Linked DNA regions of Homo sapiens: all the other regions are linked to region 1. The links are contacts of gene promoters, found by promoter capture Hi-C in human tissues and cell types (Jung and others, 2019). All regions are on one chromosome and are shown on one strand. Each heading gives the region's core, a stretch centred on a gene start or on the middle of the fragment in contact. The rest is flanking DNA. Distances are from core to core; before and after follow the strand shown. Region 1 holds the start of FURIN (furin, paired basic amino acid cleaving enzyme). Region 2 overlaps IQGAP1 (IQ motif containing GTPase activating protein 1). Region 3 has its middle 24 kb from the start of CRTC3. Region 4 overlaps CRTC3 (CREB regulated transcription coactivator 3). Region 5 overlaps CRTC3 (CREB regulated transcription coactivator 3). Region 6 overlaps CRTC3 (CREB regulated transcription coactivator 3).

What was found. Contacts are between HindIII fragments. The study calls those that stand out against the background at their distance.
Region 2: a contact is called between a fragment that was not itself captured here and the fragment with the promoter of FURIN in region 1, in 1 of the 25 tissues and cell types used here (mesenchymal stem cells).
Region 3: a fragment that was not itself captured here is called in contact with the fragment with the promoter of FURIN in region 1 in 2 of the 25 tissues and cell types used here (lymphoblastoid cells and mesenchymal stem cells).
Region 4: a contact is called between a fragment that was not itself captured here and the fragment with the promoter of FURIN in region 1, in 1 of the 25 tissues and cell types used here (lymphoblastoid cells).
Region 5: a fragment that was not itself captured here is called in contact with the fragment with the promoter of FURIN in region 1 in 1 of the 25 tissues and cell types used here (lymphoblastoid cells).
Region 6: a contact is called between a fragment that was not itself captured here and the fragment with the promoter of FURIN in region 1, in 1 of the 25 tissues and cell types used here (spleen).

The regions. Positions count from the first base shown.
Region 1 is chr15:90,866,712-90,870,194 of GRCh38, reverse strand. It overlaps FURIN (furin, paired basic amino acid cleaving enzyme), which reads right to left and starts at 1,607. Exons shown (of 16, transcript NM_002569.4): 1 at 1,484-1,607. RefSeq lists enhancers at 142-436, 374-483, 222-516, 584-633, 1-1,075. The HindIII fragment of the contact is 14,305 bases long and covers 1-3,483 here.
Region 2 is chr15:90,485,278-90,488,760 of GRCh38, reverse strand. IQGAP1 (IQ motif containing GTPase activating protein 1) reads right to left here. Exons shown (of 38, transcript NM_003870.4): 31 at 2,629-2,731; 32 at 1,672-1,807; 33 at 1,179-1,266. Among named protein-coding and RNA genes, the nearest start is that of CRTC3, 43 kb to the left of the region's middle. The HindIII fragment of the contact is 4,223 bases long and covers 1-3,483 here.
Region 3 is chr15:90,503,719-90,507,201 of GRCh38, reverse strand. No RefSeq gene overlaps it. Among named protein-coding and RNA genes, the nearest start is that of CRTC3, 24 kb to the left of the region's middle. The HindIII fragment of the contact is 5,406 bases long and covers 1-3,483 here.
Region 4 is chr15:90,553,432-90,556,914 of GRCh38, reverse strand. The region is part of intron 2 of CRTC3 (CREB regulated transcription coactivator 3); the gene reads right to left. Among named protein-coding and RNA genes, the nearest start is that of CRTC3, 25 kb to the right of the region's middle. The HindIII fragment of the contact is 5,201 bases long and covers 1-3,483 here.
Region 5 is chr15:90,575,459-90,578,941 of GRCh38, reverse strand. The region is part of intron 2 of CRTC3 (CREB regulated transcription coactivator 3); the gene reads right to left. Among named protein-coding and RNA genes, the nearest start is that of CRTC3, 47 kb to the right of the region's middle. The HindIII fragment of the contact is 6,379 bases long and covers 1-3,483 here.
Region 6 is chr15:90,591,823-90,595,305 of GRCh38, reverse strand. It overlaps CRTC3 (CREB regulated transcription coactivator 3), which reads right to left. Exons shown (of 15, transcript NM_022769.5): 3 at 1,551-1,670. It overlaps LOC124903555 (a long non-coding RNA gene), which reads left to right. Exons shown (of 2, transcript XR_007064758.1): 2 at 1,444-1,946. Among named protein-coding and RNA genes, the nearest start is that of CRTC3, 64 kb to the right of the region's middle. RefSeq lists an enhancer at 742-1,242. The HindIII fragment of the contact is 6,602 bases long and covers 1-3,483 here.

The DNA.
Region 1 (3,483 bases), core at 358-2,857:
CTCAGGGACTTCCTCAATTTACCCCTCTATAAAATGGAGATAATATTTAGTGAATGGGATCAGGTACGATTCGGGCACCTTTACAAACACTGCAAGAACTGGAAACTGGAGGAACAATGCTGGGTCCTCAAAGTTGAGCGGGAAGATAAGTCCAGTTGGCCTTGTCCCAAAGTGGGGACTTCCCCTCCGCCAAGGAACTAAGACTTGTAGGGGCCACACTGGGTAGCGCCAGCCACAGTTGGGAGAACAATACTCCAGCAGTCAGACTGAGGCAGGAAGTGACTCACGCTTCTTCCTTAGGCTGTGAGCAAGAGAACTCCATTGAGGGGAAACAGGGACAGGGCTGGCCCCACCTACCCACTTGTCCTCAGGCCTAGAAGAAAGGTCAGCCCAGAAAAATAGCAATACTTGCTGCTTCAGGTGCCCCACCCATCCTGGAGACTGGCCCCAGGGGAGCCCGCAGTGGGTCTTTGGAGGGGGAGGGGCTAGCCTAGGCTCAGATGACTGCCACCCAGGCAGAGGCGGTGGGAAGTGGAGCTTCCCAGTTTCTTCCAGCCAGCTTGCCTCTTCAATCTGCATAAGGCAAAATTCTTTAAAGTGGGTTCTCAGAGGTGCCTCCCTGAGAGGGAGGAATGAGGACAGGATTGGGCAGTTGAGCACCTCTCTCTGCTTCACCCAGAGTGTCTCACATTTTAGGGTTTCACATGAGATTGTATTTTACAACAATTCTGCTGCTAAAAAGAATTTGAAAGCCACTCTCTGTGAGACTTCTCTGGAAAAAAATCCCATTTGACCACAACTGGTGACTTCTGCCTTTATCTCATTGCAACAAGTCCTGTGGGCAGGTATTGTTCTCTTTATCACTCTCAACTGGCCCTGGAGCCCAGGTCTCCTGACCTGGGGCCCTAGGGGCCCAAGGTCCTCTGGATCCCACCTTACCAGTTTTACACAGCAGTTAGCAGGACTTGGGCATGTGACAGAAGTCTGGAGATGAGTGAGAGGAGCAGGGCCTGATGGGTAAGTGGGGGCTGTAAAGGGGCTCCATTTTCCCAGCAGGGCTCTGGGAGGAAGAGTCCAGCTAGGCCTCTCTTTATCCTTGATTTGGGGCTAATCCAGAGAGGCTCCTGAGAATCACATAGTCCTAAATCCACCCAGTCATCCTGACTCCAAGCACTCCTGTTGTCTCCTTGGGGTGCTCTGGGAGTCTTCTCTGAAATCTCTGGTCCACCTCAGGCACAGCAAATAAAGCCTTCGGCAGCAGCACCCACACCTAGTTGTAAGCAGAATGTCTACACAACATTCAGACGTGCATAGAAGGGTGCACAACAAAATTCCATTGGTGTTCTCTCCGAATGAAAGGGTCACATTTGCGATCTTTGTTTTCTTCTTTTTGCCTACCTGCATTTTTCAGGAATGTCTACAAGAACTCCTAAAATAATTAAACCTTTAAGTCAATGCAAAATCGAATAAAGCATGTCCATACTTCACCATCCAGCTCCAGAGCACCTGGGATTCATCCTGGCCGCTGCTGCTTCCCCGCCACTCACTGCAGCTGCAACAGTCAGGCTCCTATCCCTTCACAGGGCGGGGCCCTTCCAGTTCTGGCTAAACCACTTTGGGAAAACCTTCTTTATATGACAGGCAAACAGGGTGTCTGTGGGTGGGGGGAGGAGCTAAAAGTGATGTGGTGGTGACATATCTGGTCGCACTGGAACTGGATCCTAACATGGCCAGCCAGCCCTTCTCATTTTCCTCATTTATTGGGGTGGGTCTGCACTTACCTTCTGCCTGGCTTTGCTGCATCCCAGCCACTGGCTGACTTAATGACTTCCTTCCGCCAGCTCCAGCTCCTTGTGTTCTGCCTTGCCTTCCATGGCCAGCCAGTGCTGCCACAATTATGTACCTAATAAATGCTTTGGGTGCAGTCTCGCCTGGCAGACATTCATTGAGCAGCTGCTGAACGCTGGGCTCTGGTGCCCCATAGCTGGGTCCCTTAGAGCTTGTCCATAGGAAGCCAGAGACCACCTCTCTAGTAGGGTTGCATGGAGGTACCTGGGACACACCAGGGTCTTCCTCAGTCTGCGACCTCCCTGGCCTTCCAGCTTCAACAAGCCTGCTGCCCATCCTTCTCTCTCTCGATTCAGAAATGTGAATCACTCAATCCTCATAGTTTTTTTTGTTTGTTTGTTTTATGGGTTTGTTTTTTTTTTTTCTAGACAAGAGTCTCGCTCTGTTGCCCAGGCTGGAATGCAATGGCCTGATCACAGCTCACTGCAACCTCTGCCTTCTGGGTTCAGGCGATTCTCATGCTTCAGCCTCCCAAGTAGCTGGGATTACAGGCTTACGCCACTCGTATTTTTTTTTTTTTTTTTTGTATTTTTAGTAGAGATGGGGTTTTGCCATGTTGGCCAGGCTGGTCTCGCACTCCTGACCTTAAGTGATACACCCACCTCGGCCTCCCTAAGTGCTGGGATTATTAGGCGTGAGCCACCACGCCCGGTCCCCTTGTTGAGTTTTCAATCAGTTTGTCATCCTGAACAGGGTTTCTCAACCTTGGCATTATCAACATCTTGGGTCGGATAATTCTCTGTAGGGGACACTGCACTCTACATTGCAGGATGTTCAGTCGCATCCCTAGTCACTAAACATTAGCTGCTAGTAGCATTCCCGCTCCCATGATGACAACCAAAAAGATCTCCAGGTATTGCCAAATGTCCCTTGGGAGACAAAAATCTCTCCCAGCAAAGAACCACTGTCGCAGAATGAGGAGTGGGAACGTCACAGGATGGTGGTTAGTGTGCCAGGGTTCGAGGCAGCAAGAGTTGTCTGCTGGGAACTAAGCTCTGAGACAGCTAGCAGTGAGGGAGAAAACTCCCAAACTTGAAACTGCCCAGTATGCCAGCACAACAATGGGCCGTTTAGTGATCAGGGCAAACAATCATGCATCCTCATGACATCTGAGATCACTTTCCATCGTGTTGGTGATAATGCTGAATCAAGGAAAGGATCAATCATGTTGATCATACTCCATTTTCTAAGGTGGGGAGGTGTGTGAGCCCTTGTAGCATTAAAGACGTATTTGGAAAACAGATCAGTGCTTGCTTGGGGAAGGGGGCAGGGAGGGGCGGGAGGAAACTTTTGGGAATGATGGACATGTTCATTATCTTGATTGTGGTGATGGTTTCATGGGTGTGTCCATATATCAAAACATATCAAGTTGTACACTTTAAATCCATGCCGTTTATAGTGTGTCAGTTATACCTCAGCAAAGCTGTTTTGAAGATGTGTTGTTTAAAGTTTTAGTGCTTGAAGGGCATTATTTTGAAAATTCACTACTGTGGAGTAGTCCATTTCTTTGCTGAATAAATAAGGGGTCACTGTAGTACTTAAAAAGAAAACAGGAAGAAAAAACAAACAGAAGAAGAAGAAGAAAAGCGATCATGGGCTGTAAGGTCGTCCTAGGCAGGGAAGGAAAGGAATGGC
Region 2 (3,483 bases), core at 272-2,771, 380 kb after region 1:
TCTTGTCTTACATGCACACCCAAATCCTTTCCACCTTTATACATCTGGCTCCGGTTCCACTTCTTTTAGGAAGCTTCCTAATGCACTGCTTCACTGGCCTCTTTCCTGAAACTTCTCTTATTTTTCAGTCAGTAACATAGTTAATTTTGAAACAGTTCATCACTGTTTCAGGTATATATGTCACATTTCCCCAACAAGACCATGGGTTCACTGAGTTTAGGAGCCACATTCTGTACTTTTCTTCTATCTACCAAGGCATGTAACAGAATTCAAAATATATAATATTCAATAAATTGCAGTGAACCCTACACATTCATGGTTTCAACCAACCCTGAAACTGTTTGAAAAAAAAATACAACAATACAAAATAATACAAATTTTAAAAATACAGTAACAACTATTTACACAGCATTTATATTGTAGTAGGTATTATAAGTAGTCTAGAGATGATTTAAAGTATATGGGAGAACGTAAGTATATGCAAATACTACAACATTTTATTTATTTATTTATTTATTTATTTATTTATTATTATTTTTTGAGACGGAGTCTCGCTCTGTCGCCCAGGCTGGAGTGCAGTGGTGCGATCTTGGCTCAATGCAGGCTCCGCCTCCTGGGTACATGCCATTCTCCTGCCTCAGCCTCCCAAGTAGCTGGGACTACAGGCATCTACCACCTAGCCTGGCTAATTTTTTGTATTTTTAGTAGAGACGGGGTTTCACGTGTTAGCCAGGATGGTCACAATCTCCTGACCTCGTGAACTACCCACCTCAGCCTCCCAAAGTGCTGGGATTACAGGCATGAGCCACCATGCCCGGCCAAATACTACACCATTTTATATAAGGGACTTCAACATCTATGGATTTTGGTATTGGCCGGGGGTGGGGAGAATGGGTGCTGGAAAGAATCGCCTGTGGATACCAAGGGATGGATATACGGGATGGGCACAATGATTCTGCATGCAAGTGCCAGTGAGCTTCCTGTCCAAAGGACATCACCTGGACTCAGGAAGCAAAAACTTTCTCAGACGAGCCATAACTACCACTGTCCCCCAGTTACATTCATGCTCACCCCTAGGCTACCAACTGTTATTTGTGTCTCCCCTCCTTTCTCTGACATGCGCCTATCGGGAGAGCTTATCTACCAAACAAAGGAGTATGTTAGACCCTAAATTTTACCTGTTCACTGGTGGCTGGTGTTTCTAGGATTTCAGTCAAGGTCTCTCCTGGCTGGAACCGGATGACATCCACAATTAAACGTTTTGTACTGAAACGAGATGGGGGAGGCATTTAAATATTACCAGTGTTCTAGTTCCTCTCAAGTGGACCGAAGCAGCAGCAGCAGCAGCAGCACAAACAGTACCTCACAGAAGTCCCAAGCGGCAGCTGCCAGTACACAGTACTCAAGGCACAAGGCTTATTTACCCAGCCATTCCATAAGTAGGTACGAGGGTTAGGATTTCCAAGATTTACATTTCACTGTAGCATATTAGCAAAATAAGGCAGATAAGTCCTGTACCAAGTACAATATGCGAGGTGATTGGTGACTGGGATTATGACAAGTACGAGAGGTCAGGATGGTCATTTCAGGTAGGACCCAGCAGGTTCCTCTCCAAAGGCCAAGAAACCTTCAGATTACATTCATTTCATTCTTCCTTCTTTTGATACTCACTTCAGTAAGATGGTTCGAGCATCCATTTCTGCATTCTCATCTCCAGGCACGTCGAACTTGTTGGTCAGGGTGAGAGACACTTCCGTCTTAGCCAGTGCCTCCTTATTTGGGTCATTTAAATTGCCAGAGCTTTCCCCTGAAGTTTTGGGAGGGTGGAAAGAGTCAGCGTAATAAAGAGAGGAGATATTGGGGGGAAATAATACAAATATAAGATGATGCAAGTCTAAGATAATACTTGAATCACCTAACACATACAGTGTGACGAGAACAACTTTTACTGAGAAATAAAATGTTATGCCAAATGATAAAGGCAAGGGATCCATAATAACTCCATAAATGTTTGAGAAATCATTTCAACACTACAATATCACAATTCTCTCTGAAAACATTCTTTCTGGCTGGGTGCAGTGGCTCAGTCCTGCAATCCCAGCACTTTGGAAGGCTAAAGGAGGAGGATGGCTTGAGGCCAGGAGTTCGAGACCAGCCTGGGCAACATAGTGAGACTCCATCTCTATTAAAAAAAAAAAAAACAACTCAGGAGGATCACTTGAGCCTAGGAATTTGAGGCTGCAGTGAGCTATGACTGCACCACTGTACTTCAGCCTGGGCAACAGAGGGAGACCCTGTCTCATAACAAACAAACAAAAAAATTCTTTCCTTTAGAGGACTTTTAATTTATGTATCTGCAATTTTTTTAAAAAAACACAAGCTGGCAGTATGTATCTGCGTTTAAAATGATCTTTTCCTCTGACTCCAGTTCCTTATAGATATTGATCACATCTGGGCTTTTGTTGTTGTTGTTGTTTTCTCTCTTATGAAACTATCAGGATCACATCTATTTTATTTCTCAATGTATATCCAGAGTTTGGTATAGTGCAAAAAATAGAGGAGGTGACAATTACAACACTTTTCTGTCACATTCCCTTTTGATCTTCCAGGCAAAAGTTAGAACTCTACCTATCAGGGACTCGATGGTGGGCACCTCGCCGAGGTCGTCCAGCAGTTCGTGGATTGGATCATTGTGCTCCGGAGCAATGGCATCCTGGTGATCCAACAGGAGCTGCAAACACCAATGATCAACTCCATTTATACATTCAACTCTTCAGCCCGTCCCTCCCTAGAATGTCTAACAATGATCTGCACAAAGAGGTTCCAACAAAGTTCCTATATTCAAAGAAACAACAAGCAAATCCTCAGCAAACTAACCCAAATAAACAATATGATATATAAGGCACCACACCAGGCTCTGTTGAATGACTTATGTTATGATATAAGAAGAGGAAATACTGGTATTCTCTTAACCTCATGGCCATAAAGGATTCAAATGTGCCCTGTTTGAGAAAGAACACTGGCTGGGTGCAGTGGCTCACGTCTGTAATTCTAGCATTTTGGGAAGCCAAGGCGGGTGGATCACCTGAGGTCAGGCGTTCAAGACCAGCCTGGACAACATGATGAAACCCTGTCTCTACTAAAAATACAAAAATTAGCTGGGCGTGCTGGTGTGTGCCTGTAATCCCAGCTACTAGGGAGGCTGATGCAGAAGAATTGCTTGAACCCAGTAGGTGGAGGTTGCAGTGAGCCAAGATTGCGCCATTGCACTCCAGCCTGAGTGACAGAGCAAGACTCCATCTCAAAAAAACAAAACAAAACAAACAAACACAAAAAACCCACAAAACACTGAAACTCAAAGTTCAATACCCAAAGTCATCAATGTACCCTACTGCCAGTTCAAATAAGTCACGTGCACGCTTTTACTTAATGTTTCCAGTGTATGACATGATTTAATTCAGAGAAAAGTATACCAAATCAATG
Region 3 (3,483 bases), core at 574-3,073, 360 kb after region 1:
GGAGGCTGAGGCAGGAGAATCACTTGAACCTGGGAGGCTGAGGTTGCAGTGAGCTGAGATCAAGCCACTGCCCTCCAGCCTGGGCAACAGAGTGAGATTCTGTCTCAAAAAAAAAAAGAAAAGGAAAAGATATTTAAGAGACCTATCAACTAAATGTAATGCATGGATCTTGTCTGGCACCTGATTCAAAAATACAAACTGAACAATGATAAGATGAATGGGGAAATTTAAACGGTGATATTTTAAAATTTAAAAATTTAAATTAAAAATGTAAATGGTGATATTTAAACGGTGTGATATTTTAAAATAATTTGATATTTTAAAATAATTTGTTAGGTGTGATGATGGGATGGGGATTTTTTTTAAGTCCTTATCTGTAAGAGCAGCGTCTCACCCCAGGCATTATTAATATTTGAGGCTGGATCATTCTTGGTTGCAGTGGGCTGTCCTGTTGCACTGAAAGATGTCAAGTGGCATCCCTCACCTCTACCCACTAGATGCCAGTAGCACCTCTTTCGTCAGGCCAATTAAAAATATTTCCAAACAGCCAAATATCTTCTGTGATTAAAAAAAAAAAAAACTGTGTTAGAGACATGTACTGCAGTATTTATGGTTGAAATGATACTATACCTGGGTTTTGTCAAAGTAACCCAAGAGGGTTTGGGCAGAGGTACAGGTGAAATAAGCTTAACTGTGTGTTGATAATTGCTGGGCTGCATGATGGACACATGGGTGCTCATTACATTATTCCCCGTTTATATGTTGAAAGTTCCCTGCAATAAAAGTTAAAAAATTATAGTACCAAAGGAGTATTAAAATATTTCTGTTTTCCCAAGCGTATTAACATATTGGATTAAATAAGCTATCTTTAAGTTAAAGAGTTATGAGTATAGGCTGGCGCCGCGGCTCATGCCTGTAATCCCAGCACTTTGGGAGGCCGAGGCGGGCAGATCACGAGGTCAGGAGATAGAGACCATCCTGGCCAACATGGTGAAACACCATCTCTACTAAAAATACAAAAATTAGCTGGGCGTGGTGGCGGGCATCTGTAATCCCAGCAACTCTGGAGGCTGAGGCAGGAGAATGGCTTGAACCCGGGAGGCAGACATTGCAGTGAGCCGAGATCACGCCACTGCACTCCCGCCTGGCGACAGAGCGAGACTCCATCTCAAAAAAAAAAAAAAGAAAAAAAGAGTTATAATTGGGTTACTTTAAAAGTCTTGGTAAATCCCCTTGTCTACTTCCCAAGTCCTGAGAAAGTGAATAATGTTTGCATGCATAATAAATTCTCCAAATTAGGTAATTATCTTTTTTTAACTTTTGCTTTCAACAAAGTTGGAGAACCTATTCATGTTATAACTTATTATAAATCATTGAGTCTTTTGGATTAGTTACTAAGGAGTCCTGAGAAATGTGTGACACTGCTGTAATGAAACACCCCAATGTTTCTCGGAGCTTACAGTTATAAAAATGAAAAATAGAAATAGAATTGGTCATGAGCCCCATCTCATTCTAGCAAGAATATTTGTCTACCATGTTTTTAAACTTTCATTTTAAAAGACTTTCATTTATCTCATCAATAAATGCATTTCATTAGATACCAATGACAAAATAAAAAAATGCATTTCAAATATCTTTTAGAATTGTCAAGATAAAATATTACATTACTGGGCCGGGTGCGGTGGCTCACACCTGTAATCACAGCACTTTGGGAGGCCGAGGTGGGCGGATCACGAGGTCAGGAGTTCGAGACCAGCCTAGCCAAGAGACCAGCCTGGCCAGTACGGTGAAACCTCATCTCTACTAAAAATACAAAAATTAGCCAGGCGTGGTGGAGGGCTCCTGTAATCCCAGCTACTCGGGTGGCTGAGGCAGGACAATTGCTTGAACCTGGGAGGCGGAGGTTGTGGTGAGCCAAGATTGTACTCCAGCCTGGGCGACAGAGCAAGACTCCAACTCAAAAAAAAAAAAAAAAAAAAAATTACTGCAATCAAATATGCACTAATAACTGTAACTATGCAAAATGTTTTTCTAGATTGGGTTAATAGGCTTATGGTCACGAAAACAAATTTTTATTTTTGTTACAGATGACCAAAAATAAGATGTCCTTTAAAATATTTCACTAGGGTAAAATTCTGAAGGAAGCAGAGTAGAGAAAAAAAACGTTAAATTTGTAAAGATTTAAAATTTCCAGGGGCAGGCATAGTGGTTCACACCTGTAATCCCAGCACTTTGGGAGGCCGAGGTGGGCGGATCACTTGAGGTCAGGAGTTTGAGACCTGCCTAACATGGTGAAATTCCGTCTCTACTAAAAACACAAAAAATTAGCCAGGTGTGGTGGCAGCCGCCTGTAGTCCCAGCTACTCAGGAGGCTGAGGCAGGAGAATCGCTTGAACCTGGGAAGTGGAGGTTGCAGTGAGCCGAGAACACGCCACTGCACTCCAGCCTGGGCGACAGAGCAAGACTTCTGTCTCAAACAAAAATAAATAAAATAAAATAAAAAAGAAATAAAAAAGAAATTTCCAACTAAGAGCTTTGTTCATGTACCTTTAAAAATGAATGAAGGTGGGTTCCATTCGATATTTTTATGGTCATTTTTATATTAAAATTCACATGCTAGCAGGTACTCTTGATTTAAACATTAAAAATGTATTTGTCAAACTTAAAATGTGTGAAGGGATGTATACGTTTTCCCAAATTATTTTCAGGGATACACAGGCAAAAGAATGAGCAGCAGGGCTGTGACAACCCCGTCTCCCTCCCCGTTGGTGCAGTGGCACCACCAGCAGCAGCTGGGACTCCATGGCATTCACTCTGCCATTGCTCTGGGTTCCATCTTACTTTCCTACTTTTTTTTCTTTTTGTTTTTTGTGAGACAGGGTGTTGCTGTTACTCAGGATGGAGTGCAGTGGTGCAATCATGGCTTACCACAAGCCTCAACCTCCTAGGCTCAAGCAATCCTTCCGCCTCAGCCTCTTAAGTAGTTGGGACTACAGGTGCGCACCACCACGCGGGCTAATTTTTGTATCTTTGGTAGAAACAGGGTTTCAACATGTTGGCCAGGCTTGTCTCCAACTTCTGATCTCAAGCGATCCACCCGCCTTGGCTTCCCAAAGCGCTGGGATTACAGGTGTGAGCCACCACGTCCAGCCCCTACTCTGATTTTCCCTCTTATTTTTCTTATTTAATGTTGCTATACCTTGATAAGCTTTTTTTTTTTGAGATGGAGTCTCGCTCTGTTGCCCAGGTTGGAGTGCAGTGGCACGATCTCAGCTTACTGCAAGCTCCACCTCCCGGGTTCATGCCATTCTTCTGCCTCAGCCTCCTGAGTAGCTGCGACTACAGGCACCCATTACCAAGCCCAGCTGATTTTTTGCATTTTTAGTAGAGATGGGGTTTCACCGTGTTACCCAGGATGGTCTCGATCTCTTGACCTCGTGATCTCCCTGCCTCGGCCTCCCAAAGTGCTGGGATTACAGGTGT
Region 4 (3,483 bases), core at 627-3,126, 310 kb after region 1:
AAAAATGAAATTAGATTTATTTTCTAGAAATGACAAGTCAATACATACTATTAAGCAATTAGAAAGTAGTCATTGAAAAGTAGTAGACCGTTGTAAACCTTCTATTTTAATATGAAAGTATCTATATCAACTCTCAGTATTTTCTTGAGTCATATTTCTCTGACGGCTGTAGATTTTCTGTGCATAATTGTATACCATAAATTAATGGCCCTTTTGATTTTCACAAAAGCTGTCCATTTTCAAACAAATTAAGTTTTTAAGTCAATATATAAGACGTATTACACAGAGATCCATGAAGCCCCAATGAAACATTTGCTAGGCAGCCTTGGTCACTCACCAGCCTCTAGGCCCGTGTGATTAAATTTTGTGCTTCAGTAAATATGCAAACTACTTTATGTCATGAACTTTGGAGTCATTCTTGAACAGTCAACATACACTTGGAACGTCAGATCTGAAAAAGCTAAGGATCTCCTATCCTTAAGGTAATAAATATCCAAATCCATCAGTGTCAGAAGTTTTGCTAAGGTAAATATCATTGCCAAAAAGTAATGAAACCACATCTATTAACAACGGTGGCGATATTTCTACCCTTTGGTTTCAGAATTCTACTTGTGGAAATCTATGATCAGAAATATGGATGACTCATACATAAAAGTGTTTATTACCATATTATTCATTAAAAAAATCAGAATCAACTAAAATGTCCGTTGGGGAAATGCTTGTAAATTATAAGTCATATATGATGAAATATTATTTAGCTATTAAAATTATACTTATAAAGTATTTTAATGACATAGGGAAATAATTATTATATAATGGTTGAAAAAGAAAAAAATAATATAAATATGAAGACTGATATCACCTGTATAAAGATACATGAAAAATAAACTTAACATTAAAATGGTAATCTCTAGTTGATGAAAAATGGCTCATTTTTTCTGTTCCTTTTTAATGTTTACATATTTTCCAAATTTTACACAATGAGCACATATTACTTTTATAATGAAAAACAAAGAATTAAGGAACAAGCTATAAACAAATGCAATGTATTTTCCTGAACGTAAAGGTTTAAAAATGGAAGCTAAAAAAGAAAAAGAGGCCAGGCATGGTGGCTCACACCTGAAATCCCAGCACTTTGGGGAGGCCAAGGCAGGCAGATCACTTGAGGTCAGGAGTTTCGGACCAGCCTGCCAACATGGTGACACCCCGTCTCTATTAAAAATACAAAAATTAACTGGGCATGGTGGTGCATGCCTATAATCCCAGCTACTCAGGATGCTGAAGCAGGAGAATCACTTGAACTTGGGAGGCAGAGGTTGCGGTTAGCCAAGATCATGCCACTGCACTCCAGCCTGGGTGACAGAGCAAGACTCCATCTCAAAAATAAAAAATAAAAGAAAAAGAAAAAAGAAAAAGAACACTAGAGTTAACGTCTTTGTGCTATAGTTATTGTATATCCTCCTAGTCTATCATACTTGATTATGAGCTTCTTAAACTGATAGTGTCTGCATTTTCTTCATAAACCAGATAATATCTTACTCATAAAGGCACTCGATAAATACTTATTAATGAATAAATTCAGGGCAAGTTACAGTAGCTGCTTAATATAATAAAAAGTGATTTTAATAGTCAGAACAAATGTTTCCTGGCATCTATATATGTTTAGGCAAGATAAGAACAGTTGGGCTTTGGGGGATAATGATGCTTTGGTCTGGGCAATCAACTAAAAAGGGGGGCTGCCACATGGAAGAGCACGAGTGGTACATTCTGCAGCAGAAATGACAGCACCCTAAGGCCAGCAACTCTCAAATTTGTTTTCTGCCCCCACACAAAGCACTCACCTTTCACATGTGCATCCCCCACCCGCATATCCCAACAGCTGTAGATATAGCCAGAGTATGGCCAATTGTAGAAGGGCAGGGCTGTCTCCTCCAGGCACTCTCCCACTTCTCAAAATAGAAGTGAACAGCAATATTGTCAGGGTGGGGATACCCTTGATTTAACTCTAATTATTTTAAAAAATAATTCCCAACCATTGGTACTTTTAGTAAGAAACATAACTTGTAACCCAACCCATAGTGGAGTACAACACTCTGGTGTGGGAGGATCCCTGGTTGAGAGCTGCTGCAGTAACAACAAAACCATAAGCATTTACTGCACCAGGCGCTTCACACGTATTATCTGATTTCATCCTCACCAGGTCCTGTGAAGTAGGTACTAGTAACACTCCTACTTTACAAATATAGAAATGGGACTTGGACTTAAATAGGTAAGCAGCAGTGCTAGAACTCAAAGCCAGGCTGACGCCCAAGCCTACGCTGTAGTTGTGGCAATAGAGGTGTCAGCGATGGCAGAAGGAATTACAGCAGTGGAAGCAGGAGCAATAGGAACAATTATAAGAGGAAATACCTTGGCTGGTCATGGTGGCTCATGCCTGTAATCCCAGCACTTTGGGAGGCCGAGGCGGGAGGATTACCTGAGGTCAGGAGATCGAGACTAGCCTGGCCAACATGGTGAAACCCCGTCTCTACTAAAAATACAAAAATTAGCTGGGCTTGGTGGCACACACCTGTAATTCCAGCTGCTCGGAAGGCTGAGGCAGAGAACTGCTTGAGCCCAGGAGAGGGAGGTTGCAGTGAGCCAAGATCACGCCACTGCACTCCAGCCTGGGTGACAGAGCAAGACTCTGACTCAAAAAAAAAAAAAAAGAGGAAACACCTCTAATGTGCTTGCCTTGTGCCAACCACTGTTCTAAGGGTGTTATGTATAACAACTCATTTATTCTTCTCCACAAAACTCTGATATTGGCATTAGAACTATGCCCATTTTACAGGTGAGAAAAATGAGGCAAAGACATGCTAAGTGGTTTGCCCAAGGTCACACAGCTAGAAAGTGGCAGAGGCCACATTTGGATTCAGAGTATGACCCTTTTGCCCATCACACTATGCAGCCTCTGTACTGCCCTAAAGCTTCTGCCATAATATTTTAAGGCAAAGTATATGTTGTCACTTTAGTACTTGTCGTATTTCTTTTCAAGTAGATCATTGGTTTTATCCCATGGATAGACTTCTCAGGAAACATTCCCATCTCTTCCAACTTTACTGGCATGAAAATTTTCGATTAATGGAATCTGATTCAGTCTTTTAAAACATTACTTGGAGGGGTATTTTAAAGATCTCAAGTATCCATGCTATTGCTGCCCCTCCACTGCATGAACAATTGAGAGCACGTAGGAGGCAGAATGAAAATGGCAATATTCCAGTTCTCTTGCTCAAGTTCTCATGGGTACAGATGTTCCTAATTCAGTGTGTGGGACCAACGTTTCCCCGCCCCTTCTATAATTTCAAACAAAGGCTTTATCCCAGATGATTAGAGATTCATGAGTTATCTACTTTTCTCTCTCATTCTATAAGTCTTCTATTCAACATGTACGGCTAGATAAAAAGGAAGGGAAAAATGATTCGAATATGGATTAAAAATACG
Region 5 (3,483 bases), core at 343-2,842, 290 kb after region 1:
CTTCTTAGACACAGAACAGACAGATTACAGATGCTTAGAATCATTAGTAAATAAGAAAATTCAGGCCCTGTTGTAATCATTACTTTTAAAGATAACTAAACAGTTTACATCACGTTATTTAAATAAGTAATATATTGGCATTCTCAACAAATACCCTATATAACAGTGGAGAGTGACAAGGCATCCTCAATTCTCGCTCCCCTTCGACCCAGTTCCCACCTCACAATCGATACCAGATTTTTTGCTTCTTGTGAGTCCTTTGAAATACTGATTATGCATGTACAGCAAATAAGAATACATATTACTGCTGCTCTTTATTAAACATATGTGTATAATATAACTCTATACATGCATTTATAATTTACCATCTTTACCTTCTTTTTTTTTTGAGATGGAGTCTCGCTCTGTTGCCCAGCCTGAAGTGCAATGTTGCGATCTCAGCTTACTATACCCTCTGTCTCCCGGGTTCGAGCAATTCTCCTGTCTCAGCCTCCCGAGTAGTTAGTAGCTGGGATTACAGGTGTATGCCACCACGCCTCGCTAATTTTTGTATTTTTAGTAGAGACGGGGTTTTGCTATGTTGGCCAGGCTGGTCTCGAACTCCTAACCTCAGATGATCTGCCCACCTCAGCCTTCCAAAGTGCTGGGATTACAGGGCTGAGCCACTGTGCCCAGCCCATCTTTACCATTTTTAAATGTACAGTTCAGTGGTAATAAATACATTTGGCCAGGTGCGGTGGCTCATGCCTGTAATCCCAGCACTTTGGGAGGCCGAGGCAGGTGGATCACCTGAGGTCAGGAGTTCCAGACCAGCTTGACCAGCATGGTGAAACCTCATCTCTACTAAAAATACAAAAAATTAGCTGGACCTGGTGGCGCACGCCTGTAATCCAAGCTACTAGCTACTCGGGAGGCTGAGACAGGAGAACTGCTGAATCCGGGAGATGGAGGTTGCAGTGAGCCCAGATCGTGCCACTGCACTCCAGTCTGGGCAGCAGAGCGAGACTCCATCTCAAAAATTTAAAAATAAATAAATAAATATCCCTTTTCTTCCTTCATCCCCCTCTCCCTTTCCTGGCCTCTGGTAGCCACCAATCTAACTGTGTGTCATTGTGGTATCTACTTTTTTAGCTCCGACATATGAGTGAGAACATGCGATATTTGTCTTTCTCTTATTTCACTTAACATAAATGGCCTCCAGTTCCATCAGTGTTGCTGTAAATGATAGGATTTCACTCTTTTTTATGGCTGGATGATATTCCATTGTGTATACATAACCTGTTTTCTTTATCCATTCATCTGTTGATGGACAGTTAGGTTGATTCCATATTGTAAATAGTGCTGCAATAAACATGGGAGTGCAGATATCTCCTCCCTTTTTACACAAATGGTAACTTACTGATACACTGTCTGTACCTTACTTTTTAAACTTAATCTTCAACTAAATTTCTAAACCTGAATCCAATTTCTTAGAGGCTCCTTCTCAAAATAGCCAAGCAAAAATATTAGACAGCTCAACAAAATTAAAAGTCAAAACTGTCAGGGAACATATACCAACACTATAATTGACTTACTCTCTGCCAGACTGATTTGGCCAACTTCTCCAACCCCTTATATCCTTCTCAGTATTACTTGGTCCTCAAAGAACAGGATCACAGACTGCTTCCTCCTCTCCTCTATTAGCTCTTTCCATCTGCATTTAAATGTGGGCCAAAGGCTGGGCCTGGTGGCTCCTGCCTGTAATCCCAGCACTTATAATGGTAATGGGGAGATTGAAAGTGGCAAGATTAACTGCCGCTGGGATGTGCCACAGCTGGGAAGAGGAGAGCCAGTGTGAGCCACTGCATGGCAGCCTGAGCAAGAGGGCAATATTCTATCTCAAAAAAACAAAACAAAACAAAACAAAACAAAAAACAAACAAATGGCCCAGCCTCTCCCACGTAAAGCTGGGGAAGGAGGAGACACAAAAGTCGCTAACTTGCTGCATCATCCTATTCCTCCTCCTTGCCCCGGTGTCCCGGTGTCTCTCCTCTTCACAGCCAAGCTTTGTGATGAAGGAGTTGCCTCAACTCCACTTCCTCAACTCCCACAGACCTCAGCCCCCATCCCTCTGCTCCACCGAAATTTCCCAAGATAACCACAGACTTTGCACGCTACTAAATCCAAATGGGCATTTTCAGCTCCTGACCTCTTGGAACACTGGAAATTACTGACAGTTTGCTCTATTGAAAACATTCTTCTCCTGGCTCCTGGGGCTCCATGCCGTCCCATTTTTCTCCTACCTCTCTGAGTGTTTCTTTCCAGTCTTCTTCGCACACTCCTGAACTTCCTGACCATCCTTTAGTGCTGGGGTTCCTCAGGGCTCTGTCATATCACTCCATCTCTCTAGCCCAGATGTCTCTCCAGAGCTTCAGACTTATACATTCAACAGCCCACTGGACCACACTCTTCTAGGACTACCTGCAGGCACCTCAAACTCAATATATTTAGAAGTGAATTTGCCATCTTCCTCCTAAACCAGCCCCTATCTCGTGTGTTTCAAATCGCTGGGAATGGCGCCACTCGACGGCCTAACCCAGAAAGTTTGGGGTCATCCTTGAGTGCTTCCTCCTCATCCCTGCACATCTCAGTCATCACCAAGTCTGGTCATTTTGACCATCTATTTATTTTTATTTATTGTATTGTATTATTTATTTATATTTTAGAGATGGAGTCTCATTGTGTTGCCTAGGCTGGCCTCAATTTCCTGGGCTCAAGTGGTCCTCCCACCTCAGCCTCCTGAGTAGCTGGGACTACAGATGCAGGCCAGTGCACCTGGCCATTTTGACTTTCTAAACACCTCTTGAACCCAATACTATCCTCAACTCCTCATCTATCCATTCTCCCCTGGATTACTGCAACAATCTTGTCATTGGTCTTTTTGTCTCTAATCTTGTTTCCTCCAACCTAGTTCTACCCTGCAGTCAGAATAATCTTCCTAAAACACAAATCTGATCATATCCTTAGCTGCATAAAACCCAATAATAAAAGCATTTTTTAAAAAGACCTCAACAAGCCGATTTTAAAGTTCATTTGGTTGGCAGTAACACTGGTGTAAAGAGAATAAATAAATAAATAAAGTTCATCTGGAAAAATAAACATGCAAGAATAGCCTAGAAAAATCACCGAAAAGCAGCATGAAAGTGAATTAATCTTACCAGGTTTCTAAAATATAATATGAAGCTATAATCATTAATTAAAATAGTGTGATTCTGGTGTATGAATAGACACGCAGATTAATAAAAGAGAATAGGAAGTCTCAAAATCCAATCAAACTATGAGAATTTAGTTTATGATGGAAGTAGCATTTAAACTATCGGAGAAAAGATGATTATTCATAAATAGTGTTGAGACAACTAGCTAGCAAAGTGGAAAAAAAATAAGCCAGATTCACACTGCATACCTTACACTGGCATAAGCACATGATGGATCAAAGATTTTATA
Region 6 (3,483 bases), core at 265-2,764, 270 kb after region 1:
CCACCATGCCCAGCCAAAAAAAATACATTGTTAAATCAATCAAAGAAACACTCCAAGTCTTTTGCCTGAATATTCTTGGCAATTTGGACAACGGTTTGATGTACCACTCCATCCTGACATGTACAAATTTGCTGATGAATTGCCTCCATTTCCTTTTGCCTTTTTCATTCAATGTCAAAGTTATCACACATTCCAGAATAGATTCTCAAGATCATTTATCATCTTTACTTTCCTTGATAACAGCCACATAATATACAAAATCAGAAGTCAGTCCTTCTGTGGACCAAATGTGGTGTGTTCCTGGGGGCGGGAGAAAGGGGAGAGAAAAACATTCCCTGGGGTCATTATCCTTGCCTCCAAATAGACTAAAAACTGCAAGAAGCTTGAAGGCAAGAAAAGTTGGGGTTTCCCTAGAGTGCCCCCACAACTCCTGGCTCCCTTGTACAAGGTCCTCATCACTGCGAATGGTCGCAGGTGGCATAGGGAGGGGAGAGCACAGGCTGGGCCATCAGCGGGGCCTGGTCTGAATCCTGGGTTACTTCACCACACACTCAGTTTCCTCATCAGAAAATGAGGGTTAAAAAAATTAACGACTCAGTGAGTTTTTGAGGACTAAGTGACACATAAATTACCCAGCACAGCGCCTGGCATGGGTAGGTGCTCAGTAAACATGAGTGCCCTGCCCCCACTTCCTGGTTTCTAGGCTTGTGAAGCCAACTCTACCATCACTGCCAGGAATTCAGCTCTCCGCAGCGAGACCCACCCCGCCTTTCTTCTCCTTCCTCCACCCCTGCGCCCGAGTACTGAGAAGAATGAAGTGAGAGCACGGGCCCTCCTGGCACACTTCTGTGTCCTCTCCCAAAAAATCCAGCTCAGTTCTGTTCCCCAAAGCCTTCGGCACAATGCTGGTCACACAGCTGCACCCACCACTGCCGCCCTGTAAACAGGACTGATTAAATGAAACTGTCAGGTGAATTCACCATTTCCTTTCCTTTATTTCTACTTAACAGCAGAGTTTGGTGTGACTGTACATCACTGCATGAGATTTTCCTATATTCTAGGTTTATTTTAGTTATCACTTACTGAGTTTGAAACATCACAAATAGAAAATAATATGAAATTTTGTCTGTAAGTTCCAAAAGCAGGTCAGCAGATCAAAAGAAGTACAAATAAATCACATATCTCTATGTCCATTTTTGCTAAAGAGACTAAGGCTCTCTAACCTGATTCAAAGTCAGGTTTAACTCTAACGTGGCCAATTTCTGGAGAAAATGCTCAGAACACCCTGCAATGGGACCGAATTACAGGTTGTTTTTGTTGTTATTTCATTAAACTGAACTTTATTGATGCTTTCATAAACACCTACAATGATGTTTCCAAATGTTGACTGCAGAGATGTTTCTAGTTTCCAACTCATTTATTTGTATTGCCTCCTTTCATCAGATAAATGAAGATTCTGAGGCCAAAGGAGAATTGCAGGGAAGATAAATCCTGAAAACTTTTCAAACATTTCAGAATGCACACTCCCTTTGAAGAGTAAAAAAGGATATTTGTCGCCCTGGCTTGTCCCCAGACCTTCGGTGGAGGGGGTGGAAGCGGTTCCTGGATGGCCTCTCCACCAGCCCGTGATGGCGGGTTCCCCGAACATTATCAGCTTGGTGAAATGACGGCTGCAGAGAGAAGGGAAGAAGAGTTGGCCTCCAACCATGAAATTGACACTCACCCTCAAGAACAACTGATAACAACAGGAGATGAAAGGACCGATTTTACAGTTTTACTTATTATACATTAGTGGGCCTTGGGTCAAGGTAAATAAAGTAGTATATGGAACTATTTCTTTATAATAACCATAAAATAATGACAAATAATCTGTAGTGTGTTAAGAGGAAAGCTGAAAGAATAATAAAAGTTGTCATGCAATTGGGGGAGGAGAATCAGAAGACGGTGAACTCATATACTAAATCCCAGAAAACTAGAAAGGACACTTTGAAATGTAAAAGAGGTATATTAAAGAAAGAAACTGGCAAGCCACGAGGCACCTATTTGTTCTGCACAGTGTCTTTTAAAATTTTTGATTGAATTCATAATGTTTGAAAATTCAGACTTGAGGATTCTAGGGAAAAGTCAGAATTTTTTTTGTTTGTTTGTTTTTTGAGATGGAGTCTTGCTCTGTTGCCCAGGCTGGAGTGCAATGGCGTGATCTCAGCTCACTGCAACCTCCGCCTCCCAGGTTCAAGTGATTCTCCTGCCTCAGCCTCCCAAGTAGCTGGGATTACAGATGTGCGCCACCACGCCCAGCTAATTTTTGTATTTTTAGTAGAGACGGGGTTGCACCATGTTGGCCAGGCTGGTCTCAAACTCCTGACCTCAGGTGATCAGCCCACCTCAGCCTCCCAAAGTGCTGGGATTACAGGCATGTGAGCCACCGCACCCACCCATAAATCAAAATATCTTGGCCACAATGAGCCGCACTCATCTCAGGCTCAAGTTGAGCATGGCTGCTCCCTGTAGATGGGACACCCACTCTCTTACTATGAATCCTTACACACAAACCATTTCACTGACTCATCATTTTAGACATTCAGAGTGTGTAACCCCTGAGTTAAAGAGGAAAAAAGGAATGCTATGTAAATACAAGTGGAAAACATACAAATCATCAGTCCCTAAATGATACAAATGAAAGCAGAAACAGATTGTAGATAAATTCATGGTCAATAAATCCAAAATCCTTTTTAAAGAGATGCTTGGGGTACGTTCTTAACATTTTTGAGACTGGTATCACAAAGGGCAACCTTTTTGGTTGTCAAAAGCCAAATCCTAGGCTGGGCCAATAAATCTCACATAATGAGGCAATGTGTATACATTGTGCAATAGATGTGCTTGTGAAATATAGAAAACAGATTTTCTTCTCCCATCCCCTCCAGCATTAAGGTGTTACTGACAAAGAAAAATTGTATATATTTACACTGTACAACATGATGTTTTGATATATGTATACATAGCAAAATGATGAAATCAAGTTATTAACATATCCATCACCTCACATACTATTCATTTAAAACAGAGTTTTACGTCAATTGAGTCACATATAAAATTGGTAGCTTACTGTGAAAGGAATCCTGTGACGCAATGTTTTTATAGGGGACTTCCTTCAGCTAAAAACTAATTTTTCTTTGTTAAACATGGATTTTCTCATTTTGGTTTTGAGAATTACTCCTATTTCTCCCAAGTGGACTCATAAAATCTCTGGGCCAAATTAGTCTAACAGTTCCGATCTATTTTTATAATCCAAATCTATAAACTCACAAAATAAAGTTATCTTACCAAGGAAAAACTTCTGGGCTGGAAGAAAAATAGCCACTATGATATAGGGAAGCTAGATTTATCTCAGACAATGGAATACTCTATTCTAGAGAATAATATATTGAAATACCTGAAAAATAATGGGACAAACTGACATCAGGTGCTTCTTGGCAAGATGCA